Regions from separate parts of the Homo sapiens genome. Here regions 1 and 2 are each linked to region 3. Evidence: promoter capture Hi-C in human tissues and cell types (Jung and others, 2019). All regions are on one chromosome and are shown on one strand. Each heading gives the region's core, a stretch centred on a gene start or on the middle of the fragment in contact. The rest is flanking DNA. Distances are from core to core; before and after follow the strand shown. Region 1 overlaps CNNM2 (cyclin and CBS domain divalent metal cation transport mediator 2). Region 2 overlaps NT5C2 (5'-nucleotidase, cytosolic II). Region 3 holds the start of WBP1L (WW domain binding protein 1 like).

The links. Contacts are between HindIII fragments. The study calls those that stand out against the background at their distance.
Region 1: a fragment that was not itself captured here is called in contact with the fragment with the promoter of WBP1L in region 3 in 2 of the 25 tissues and cell types used here (bladder and spleen).
Region 2: a contact is called between a fragment that was not itself captured here and the fragment with the promoter of WBP1L in region 3, in 1 of the 25 tissues and cell types used here (aorta).

What each region holds. Positions count from the first base shown.
Region 1 is chr10:103,045,777-103,049,250 of GRCh38, forward strand. The region is part of intron 1 of CNNM2 (cyclin and CBS domain divalent metal cation transport mediator 2); the gene reads left to right. Among named protein-coding and RNA genes, the nearest start is that of CNNM2, 130 kb to the left of the region's middle. The HindIII fragment of the contact is 8,929 bases long and covers 1-3,474 here.
Region 2 is chr10:103,106,468-103,109,906 of GRCh38, forward strand. NT5C2 (5'-nucleotidase, cytosolic II) reads right to left here. Exons shown (of 19, transcript NM_001351169.2): 5 at 122-239. Among named protein-coding and RNA genes, the nearest start is that of NT5C2, 85 kb to the right of the region's middle. The HindIII fragment of the contact is 5,100 bases long and covers 1-3,439 here.
Region 3 is chr10:102,741,867-102,745,390 of GRCh38, forward strand. WBP1L (WW domain binding protein 1 like) reads left to right here and starts at 2,082. Exons shown (of 4, transcript NM_001083913.2): 1 at 2,082-2,277. The coding sequence starts at 2,188. SFXN2 (sideroflexin 2) reads left to right here. Exons shown (of 12, transcript NM_178858.6): 12 at 1-1,626. RefSeq lists enhancers at 1,729-1,778, 2,719-2,948 and a silencer at 2,059-2,218. The HindIII fragment of the contact is 7,220 bases long and covers 1-3,524 here.

The DNA.
Region 1 (3,474 bases), core at 826-3,325, 300 kb after region 3:
GATCTTTGAGATTGAAATGCATCTTTTTAACTTTTTATTTTATTTTTTTATAGAAATGAGTTCTTACTATGTTGCCCAGGCTGGTCCCAAACTCCTGGCCTCAAGCGATCCTCCTGCCTTGGCCTCCCAAGATGCTGGGATTACAGGCGTGAGCCATTGTGCCCTGCCTGAGGTGCATCTTCTAATCACTTTGTACATTTAATAATATAGTGGGGTTTTTTCCCTCTAAGTTGGTAATAAGTTGATGGTGCCTTAGAATTTAGGAAAAACATTAATAAAATAACGAGCATTACCACTTAGTGATCACCCAGCCGATTCCAGGCAGTGTCTTTGCTGGGTACCAGCATTATCTCTGATTTTCACAACAATCCTATTGCAGTAACAATTATGAGGCTGGCTTTAAAGATAAGGAAGCTCAGAAAAGTTATGTTTGGTCATGGTCTTCTGCTAGTAATGGCTAATGAGTGGCCTGCTGGAGTTCAAATCCAGAACTGTTCGACTCATGTTCTTCCCTTGCCATCCTGGTCTCAAGCAATCCATCCCCCAAAGCAGCAGTCTTTAACCTATTTATGCCTAGTGTTCCATTATTGGAATGCTAAGCTTGTGGGAGTTATTTATATTCTACTGCTCAAGGTCATCACCAAGGTCTGATTTTTCACAAAAACTTGCAACCTGTGACATAAATGGGTTAAACTTTTTTTGGTCTCAGGACCCCTTGAAACTCTTAAAAATGATTGAGGATCCTTTTATTTATGTGGGTTCTATCTTTTGATATTTACTGTATTTGAATTAAAACAGAGACCTTCAAAACATTGGTTGATTTAAAGGACAATAATCCATTGCTTGCTAATATAGTGTTATTAATAAAAATATTTTCTAAAACAAACAGTAGAAGAGTGCCATTGTTTTACTTTTTGCATGTCTAATCAAGCTAAAAGGAAGGCAGCTGGGTTCAGTCTTGTGCATTCAGTCTGTGCAGTATACTGTGTTAGTTGAAGTATATCAGGAGAATCTGGCCTCACACAGGTATGTATTTGGAAAAGGGAGGAGTATCAGCTTTTTTGGACAGTGATGGGTATTCTCCTTTGATATTACATCAAAACTCCATACATAGTAATTTATTAAAGGTTAGTTGTAATGTAGAATCTGAAACCATACCAGTAGACCTTTGGACTCTTACATTAACTTTGTTTGGTCCGAAATCTTCTTTACAGAAGAATACTGAATAATATATGCAGGTACTCCCCCTTCTAAATAATACATGTAGATACTCCCATATTCCAGGAAGTAGAGCTTAACTCCCACCCTTGTATGGGTGGGCTAGACTTAGTGATTTGTTTTCAAATAATAGAATTAAGGAAAGGGAAAAATGAGTAACTTTCCAATGGAGAAACCTGGGAAACACAGCCTTAACCAAGTGATGAAAAAGGTGAATGTCAGCAGTGATGTCATATAACCACTGATGTAACTAGAAAACCTATAACCCAGTATACTCATGGGTGAAACATCAGACAAGCTCAAATCGGGGGACATTCTGCAGGAGGCCTGACCAGTACCCTTCAATATTGTCAATGTCATAAAAAGCAAAGACCGAAAAACTGTCACAGACCAGAGGAGACTAAAGAGACATGACAACTAAATGTGGTGTGGTGCCCTGAACCAGACAACAAAACAAAGAGGATGTTGTAGAAATAATCAGCGAAATCCAAATAAAGTCTGGAGTTTACTTAATAGTAATGTACCAATGCCAATTTTTTAGTTTTGACAAATATATCATGGTAGTGTAAGATGTTAACAATGGGGGAAACCGGGTGAAGGGTTTATAGGAACTCTCTGTACTCTCTTTGCAACTTTTCTGTAAATCTAAAATTATTCCAAAGTAAGAATTTTTAAAAATCTGTTGTTCTGTCTTATACTCCAAATGGATTGTGTACTCGTGCATGATTTTGTAACATTGCCATAGTCACTTGGAAAATATTGGTTCACTGAGTTATACAGATCTTCAAAATGTTGACAGATTGCAATATTCAATATTTTTAACAATCGTTTGTTAATATCACCAGCAATCTCATCAGAAAAGTCTTTAATTGTTGAGAAGCTGTTACGCTCGTGGCTACAAGTCTCCCAAAATTTTAATTTTCTTTTCTTTTTTTTCTTTTTTGTTGAGACAGAGTCTCACTTGTTGCCCAGGCTGGAGTGTAATGGCACGATCTTGGCTCACTGCAACCTCCACCTCCTGGGTTCAAGCCATTCTCCTGCCTCAGCCTCCTGAGTAGCTGGGATTACAGGCGTGCACCACCACACCTGGCTAATTTATTTTGTATTTTTAGTAGAGACAGGGTTTCACCATGTTGGCCAGGTTGGTCTTGAACTCCTGACTTCAAGTGATCCGCCTCCCAAAGGGCTGGGATTACAAATGTGAGCCACTGCGCTCAGCATTTTTTTTTTTTTTTTTTGAGTGGGAGTCTCACTCTGTTGCCCAGGCCTGGAGTGCAGTGGCACAATCTCGGCTCACTGCAACCTCCGCCTCCCAGATTCAAGTGATTCTCCCACCTCAGCCTCCTGAGTAGCTGGAATCACAGGCACACACCACCACATCCAGCTAGTTTTTGTATTTTTAGTAGAGATGGGGTTTTGCCATGTTGGCCAGGCTGGTCTCAAACTCCTGACCTCAGGTGATCTACCTGCCTCAGCCTCCCAAAACGCTGGGATTACAGGCGTGAGCCACCGCACCCAGCTAAAATTTTAACTGTCTGTTGAAAGCTCAAATTTTATCATTGGCAGTCCACACTGCCTATTGTTTTCCTTGATGTGACAGGTTCATTTTTGAGAAAATGCCTGACAAATACCCAAGTCTATATAACCATAGTTTGTCTAGTAGTCGTGTTTGAAGTAAAAACATTCAACAATGAAAGTGGCCAGTCCAACTTGCAAGTCAATCACAAGAGTCTTTCCTCAGGACGGCTGCCATACTTCAGAATTCAACAGAAGTGTTTTATGACAATTCCCATGTTGTCATACAGATTACCAAAAGACATGTACTCAGGTCAGGATTTAATGAAATTAATGTTTACTGCTTCAGCAAGGACTTTTTTTTAAGACAGTGTCTTACTCTGTCGCCTAGGCTGGAGTGCAGTGGCTCGATCATAGCTCACTGCAGCCTCGAACTCCTGGATCCTCCCACCTCAGCCTCCCAGGAAGCTGGGACTGTAGGCCTGCATGTCCAGCTACTTTTTCTGTTTATTTTTTTGTAGAGACAGGATCTCACTGTGTTGCCTAGGCTGATTGTGAACCCCTGGGCTCAAGTGGTCTTCCCGCCCGGGCCTCCCAAAGCTCTTGGATTACAAGAGTGAGCCATCGCTCCCAGCCAAGTACATTCTTAAGAGAAGCTACTTCCTTCCCTTTACTGCATGTGTGTTGTGACAGAGAACAGTGTTCACTAAGTGCAGCTTGCTCCCACTACGTTCATCTGTG
Region 2 (3,439 bases), core at 363-2,862, 360 kb after region 3:
AAAGAATTATTCAATGTTTTGGGGGGTTTTTTTGTTAAGGATAAATCTGGAATGTCTAATTTGAGGGGTAAGGAAAGTAGTCTTAATCTAGTCTTAATCCAAAAATATCTTTAAAAATTACCTGGTAGGGAATGTAGAATCATAAGCAAAGCTGAGCAACTCCTGGGGATAGCCAATAGAAACTAATCTCTCCACAGTAAGCTCAAAACCAAGGGACTCATACTCTGGGGACTTGTACACTGCACAAAGAGGAGGTTTTCATTAGTTAGCAGAAAGAACAGCCAATTAAAACAGAATGCAAATGAATGAATTTCTGCTCTTTCCCAGTTCTTCCCCCCTCCTAATTCTGCCATTTTTCTTCTTCCCCCTCAAACTCCATGTTCTGTATTGCCCCAAGTAATTAGAGAACTCAATTGTTAGTCTGTGGAAATAGGTCATATTATATAGCAGGAGCACAGCAACAAGCTGAATTATCAAATTATTCAGTATAGTTCCTTCATTCTCAGGAAACCTATTCCAAACTTTTTTTTCCTTTATTCTTTCATTCCCACAGTTTAAAAAAATGAATATGCATAGCTGTGATATTAATCGTGAGAATAAAAGTACACAGAAAACTAGGTAAGGGAGGTCTATGTATGCTGAAGGCTTCGGTGTTGTGCATAATTGTTGCAGAAATCCTTCAAAATGAACTTTTAAAATAATTTATTTTTGGAATTCCTGTTTGGCTTGGGTAATTGCTTTATATGCCTTCTCCAATCAACATATTTGTTCCACTTGTTAGATTAACTGTTTTCTTATCAGCTCTAACAATGTATGCCATCAAAATTGTATTTTGCAGGTTATTATTGTAAACCAACCATAAAAAGACATGTTTGTGACAATTAGGGAAATCTAAATATGAAATGGAGTTAGATATTGAAGAATTGGTCAGGCGTGGTGGCTCATGCCTGTAGTTCCAGCACTTTGAGAAGCCGAGGCGGGCAGATCACTTGAGGTGAAGAGTTCGAGACCAGCCTGACCAACATGGTGAAACCCCCGTCTCTATTAAAAATACAAAAAATTAGCCGGGTGTGGTGGCGCATGCCTGTTGTCCCAGCTAGGAGGCTGAGGTGGGAGAATCGCTTGAACCTGAGAGGCAGAGGTTGCAGTGAACTGAGATCATGCCACTGCACTCCAGCCTGGGTGACAGAGCGAGACTCTGTCTAAAAAAAAAAAATATGCAAATGTGTATATAAAACTAAATCTCTCCTTATCTGCCAAAGGAGCATTGAGTTTGTTACAGGTCAAATAACAGGGATTTCAGGCAATGAGGGGTTCTCTCTCTATTGTGTAAGTCTGAAATTTTCCATAATGAAAAAACTTTTCAGAGTTTACTACTGAAATTCAAGCAGAAAGAAAATGTTGCGGCCAGGTGCGGTGGCTCACGCCTGTAATCCCAGCACTTTGGGAGCCCAAGGCGGGCGGATCACTTGAGGTCAGGAGTTCCAGACCAGCCTGGCCAACACAGTGAAACCCCGTCTCTACTAAAAACACAAAAATTAGTTGGACGTTGTGGCGGGCACCTGTAATCCCAGCTACTCGGGAGGGTGAGGCAGGAGAATCGCTTGAACCCAGGAGGTGGAGGCTGCAGTGAGCCGAGACCGTGCCACTACACTCCAGCCTTGGCGACAGAGTGAGACTGTCTCAAAAAGAAAAAAAAGAAAAGAAAAGAAAATGTTGCTCCTTTAAATAGGTTTCTTCCAAATGAAATATTTAGGTAAGCATCTTTCCATCAGTCTCCAGGAGTGAGTAAGCCATATTAAAAATAACAGCTAAAAAGACCTGCTAGCTTGCTAAATGCCAAATGAGGCAAAAATATCCATCCTATTCTTGTAATCTCATAATAATGCAACTATTATTATTATAGTTCTTCCATCTACTATTAACATCTTTAGCTTTTGGCGCAAACTGATTTTTCATTGCAATTAGTCTACCTATCCAAGTTGGTGCTAATACTTTAATGAGTGTGATTCAACTTTCCCTTTCCAAAAACAATCCTTTAGAATATTTCTGGAAATATATAACAGTAATACTAGTTGCCACGTAGGAAAGGAACTGAGTGGCCTTTAAGAGACAGGGAAGGAAACTGTCATGTACTTCTTGTACCTTTAAAACTTACATTAATGTATATCTATTTTTAAAATTAAACTGAAGTTTTTAAAAAGCAAGCTGGGCTTTCAAAATCCTTTAATAAATATTTGTCAGATTTTAAAACCAGAAGCCTTTTAAGGTCTTTTGAGTCTCATCAGAACAATGCCAAAAGAAAAAAACCATCTTTATTTCTTTTGTTGTCACAAGGGTAATAATAATTTAATGCCAATGCTAACCCTGGCTAACTTTTTTTTTTCTTTTTCTTTTTCTTTTTTTCTGAGTCAGAGTCTCGCTCCATTGCCCAGGCTGGAGTGCAGTGGCCGTGATCTTGACTCACTGCAACCTCTGCCTCCCAGATTCAAGCGATTCTCATGACTCAGCCTCCCAAGTAGCTGGGATTACAGGTGCCCGCCACCACACCTGGTATTTTTAGTTGAGACGGGGGTTTCACCATGTTGGCCAGGCTGGTCTCGAACTCCTGACCTCAAGTGATCCGCCTGCCTCGGGCTCCCAAAGTGCTGCTATTACAGGCTGAGCCACCATGCCCAGCCATGGCTAACATTTTCAAAACTGGCTATATTACCTTCTTCCCCTTAAATCCTGCCTCATCCTCTCCCATCCCCCTAAAAAAAACTTGTTGAAGACTTAAGTGTGGAATTCCTAAATCTATATGATGTACACTGTGGATAAAAAAATAAAGTGCTATATACACTAATAGAGTAAGAGCTGGTGTATCATAAAACCATAAGGCATGGCACCTACTGTTGTAAATTTGTTATAAGTATAACCACTCTCACCTTACCCTCCTCAATGCCCCATGCTCCCACCCCAGTTGCAAGTAAATCTCATTTTAGTACAATCTCCATAAAACAAAAATTATTTCTCAATCCTAACCAAGGCCCCATTTATTTCAAACTGTATTTAATGAAATAAAGTTCCAGTATAGCTAAGTAATTTGGGTAATCTACTGACATTTATTCTTACAGGATTTGGTCCATATAAAATGTTTTCAATTGTTAATTTTTTCAGAAGGACAATTTGCTGGATATGCCTTAAGAGTGGGAGACAAAAAACAAACCTTAATTACTCCCACCCACACTCACCCCTAAATCAGCAATTTCTCCAGCTAGAGAAATTAGGTAACTATAGAGCAATGGAGTGACTATCGAGTAAAACCTATGTCTATGAGACAATTTGGATTTGAAGCACAAATTAATGTACTCATAATTTTCAGTGAAAAACAATACAGGAGAGAAAAAGTCTCAAATCCCCATTTTGACAGCACAAATCCTAGAATAGCAGAAAATAA
Region 3 (3,524 bases), core at 832-3,331:
TTCTAAGAAACGAGAGATTGGCAAAAATACGTGTCACTTTTTATAGTACTTGGAAAAGCAGGATCAAGATAAAGGCAGAACTATGGACTTTCTTAAGCTGAGGGAAGACTGACTTAACTCTTACCTGTTTCCCATTTTTCCAACACTTAAGCCAAGAACAACTTCCTCTGGGCTCAGATGTGGGCTAGACTGGGCCAGGCTGTAAAACACTTTGACAGGTTTTTGAGAGGAAATTGACTGCTAAAGTCAACTGTGTTATTTGCCATGGGTCTTCCTTTGTCCATTTATTTTACCAACTTTTTTTTTTCTTTTTTTTTTGAGACAGAGTCTCACTCTGTCACCTAGGGTGGAGTGCAGTGGCACAGTCTTGGCTCACTGCAACCTCTGCCTCCCAGGTTCAAGCGATTCTTCTGCTTTAGCCTCCTGAGTAGCTGGGACTACAGGCATGCACCACCACGCCTGGCTAATTTTTTGTATTTTTAGTAGAGATTGGGTTTCACAATGTTGGCCAGGCTCGAACTCCTGACCATGTGATCCGCCCACCTCGGCCTCCCAAAGTGCTGGGATTACAGGCAGGAGCCACCGCACCTGGCCTTTTTTTTTTTTTGAGACAGGGTCTCACTCTGTTGCCCAGGCTGGAGTACAGTGGCACAATCAAGGCTCATTGCAGCTTCAATCTCCCTAGCTCTGGTGATTGTCCCACCTCAGCCTCCCAAGTAGCTGGGACTACAAGTGTGCACCACCATGCTTGGCTAATTTGGCTAATTTAGTTTTTTTATTTTTGTAGAGACAGGGTTCTCTCCATGTTGCCCAGGCTGGTTTCAAACTCCTGAGCTCAAGGGATCTACCTGCCTCAGCCTCCCAAAGGGCTAGGATTATAAGCATGAGCCACCACACCTGGCTATTTTACCAACATTGATCAAGCTCTGGTTGAGCCTTGTACAGGATATTATAGGCTTTAAAAGAAGAAGAAGAAAGACCTGGTATGCTGTACAAAAAACTGCAAACCAGGCACGCAGATATAAGTGTTACAAGAATCCAGAAGAAGCAGCAAGGAGATGGGGCTAGGAGTTTGTAAGCAGGGAACTGTATCTGTAATATGTAAATGAAGTTACTGGGCATCTCTTCAATGGTCAGTGTGAGTGGAATGTGTGGGAAAATGTAGTGGTGAGAGGTGAGATAAAGAGAAGTAGACAGGGACGAAGTCACAGAGAGGACCGTGTTGGGAAGTTTGGACTCTCTATTCTGTAGGTAGATGAAGTATTTAAAAGAAGAGGCCATGATATAGTAATATTTGGTTTAATGTGGTATGGTTGTAGTGTGTGGCGGAAATTTGAGAGGAAGAATTGTCAACTTGCAGGGCAGCAGGGAAGCCATTTGTATTTAGCTAGAAGAACATGGATTGAAGCAATGGATGATGGATTTCAGAGCAATTTGTGAAGTAGAACCAGAATTTTGTCCGTCGAACTTGGGGTGACGAAGCACTATGCCTCAGATAAAGGTACTATCTTCTAGGGAATTCAAACGGACCTAAGCTGCTATTTGGGCAGTTGAGACCAAGAGAGGCATCCTGGTAATAGTGCTGTGCTTCAAGACAAAAGACATTAAAATATTTTTACATTGCAATTGTTTTCCTCTTCAGGAGCGCCTGGTTACCTTTCAGGAATAATTTATTTTCCAACACCCTTGAGAAACATTAAACCTTTTTTCTTTTTTTGATGTGGAAAACTGGAAAACTAGTACTTCCGCCACACTCAAGATGGCTACATCAGAAATAGACTTTTCCATCCACCTGGGTGGCCCCGCCCCCTTATGAAGCTGCTTCCGCCACTCTCTGCGGGTTGGGACGAATTTTACACTTCTTCGCAGCATTCAAGATGGTCCGGCTTCCTCCTACTTTTTATTGGCTGCATCGCTTCGTCTTCAGGGGAAGGCGGGACTTATATTTGATCGACAGCTACATTGATCAATGGACAAAGGGCAAAGGCCAATGAAGCGCTGGAACTGGAGAGTCTCTCGCGTGTCTGGGAGGGTGTTTTGCGCGGGGCGGGGTGGAGCAGAGCCGGAAGCGGGAGGGGAGCGTCAAACAGGAAAAGAAGGGAAGAAGGAAGAAGAGGGTAGAGGAGGAGAGGGAGGAGGAGGAGGGAGGTGGCGGCGCCGTGGCGGAGGAGCAGGAGCAGGAGGGGGATGGAGAGGAGAAGGCTCCTGGGTGGCATGGCGCTCCTGCTCCTCCAGGCGCTGCCCAGCCCCTTGTCAGCCAGGGCTGAACCCCCGCAGGTAAGGGGGAGGGGGCGTCTGGGCCATGTTGGGTCCTGGGGGTCGTCGAGGCCTGGCTGGAGGGGTCTGAAGGAGTGTTGTTGCCAAGAGTTGAGGGGTCCCGAGAGGGGCGTCTATGCCTGGCGTGGACAGGATCTAAAGGGGCGTCGGTATTTAGCTGAGGGACACCTGTGACAGTTTTGGTGTCAAGGAGGTGGCAGAGGCATGATGCCAAGCGAGTGAGGGGCGTTTGAGACGGCAGGTTGGTTAGGTGGGCTGGGGTGACTGTGGCTGGATAGCGGTGCCAAGCTGAGGATGTGGGCCTTATTCGTGTCCCTCTGTGGAGCAGGTGTCCCAGGCAGTAATGCAGTATGTACGTCTGTGTGTGTAGGGGTACACAGGCTATTGAGTTGGCCTGTGAGGGAGGGGATCCTGAGGATATTTCTTTAAGGATGGACTGGGGAAAGTTCCGAGGGCATCTTAGTACGTTTAAAAAAAATTACTATGTTCCTGGGAGAGACTTGGCCCCATTTTAAAATCTGTAAGCCATGGCGCACTTGGTTGGAGGGAGGACTCTCAGAAGGCAGGTGGGATGAAACAGAGTGGAACCCCTCAGGAGGAGGAGCACACTTGAGCTGTAACAAGCTCTTGCTGTTAGGCTGGCTGGCCTGGGAGAGCAAGTCACGGATGCTGATCTGAGCCAGCTCAGGGCTTTTGACCAGAGGGTGGTTCTGATGCCAATATGGGCAGCAAATGGAGCACCCTAGCTTTTCTTGCTGGGTGGCTTGCTCTTTATCCAGGCAGAGAAGCTTGCTTGTGCTGATTCCAGCTCCAGCTGGCATTTCAAAACCCTAATGGGAGCGTTACTCCTGGTGCCAAGTTGGGTGGGGTGCAGTGGGGGCAATCACCCCTCCTTCCTTGCATGTGGCAAAGCTTTATGATTCTTTTTTCTTCACTTTCTGTTCTTTTCCCCGTTTTTTCAGAAAGGCATACACACATAGACGCATAGCGTAGTGGCAAAGTTTATACAACTTAGCGCTTGAACTTGTGTTGTGAACAAGAGCAGAAACTGAGTGCCAGCAAAAATACTTATCTTTTCCCTAGGAGTTTTAGGGCTGCCTTTTCACAAATACATCTTGTTTTGCCCATTATCCTCTATTTTAAAATACTGATTAAAAAATAAGTTGAAATTCACATGACAAAAACCATTTTAAAGTGAACAATTCAGTGGCATTTAGTACACTTACAATGTTGTGCAACTACCACCT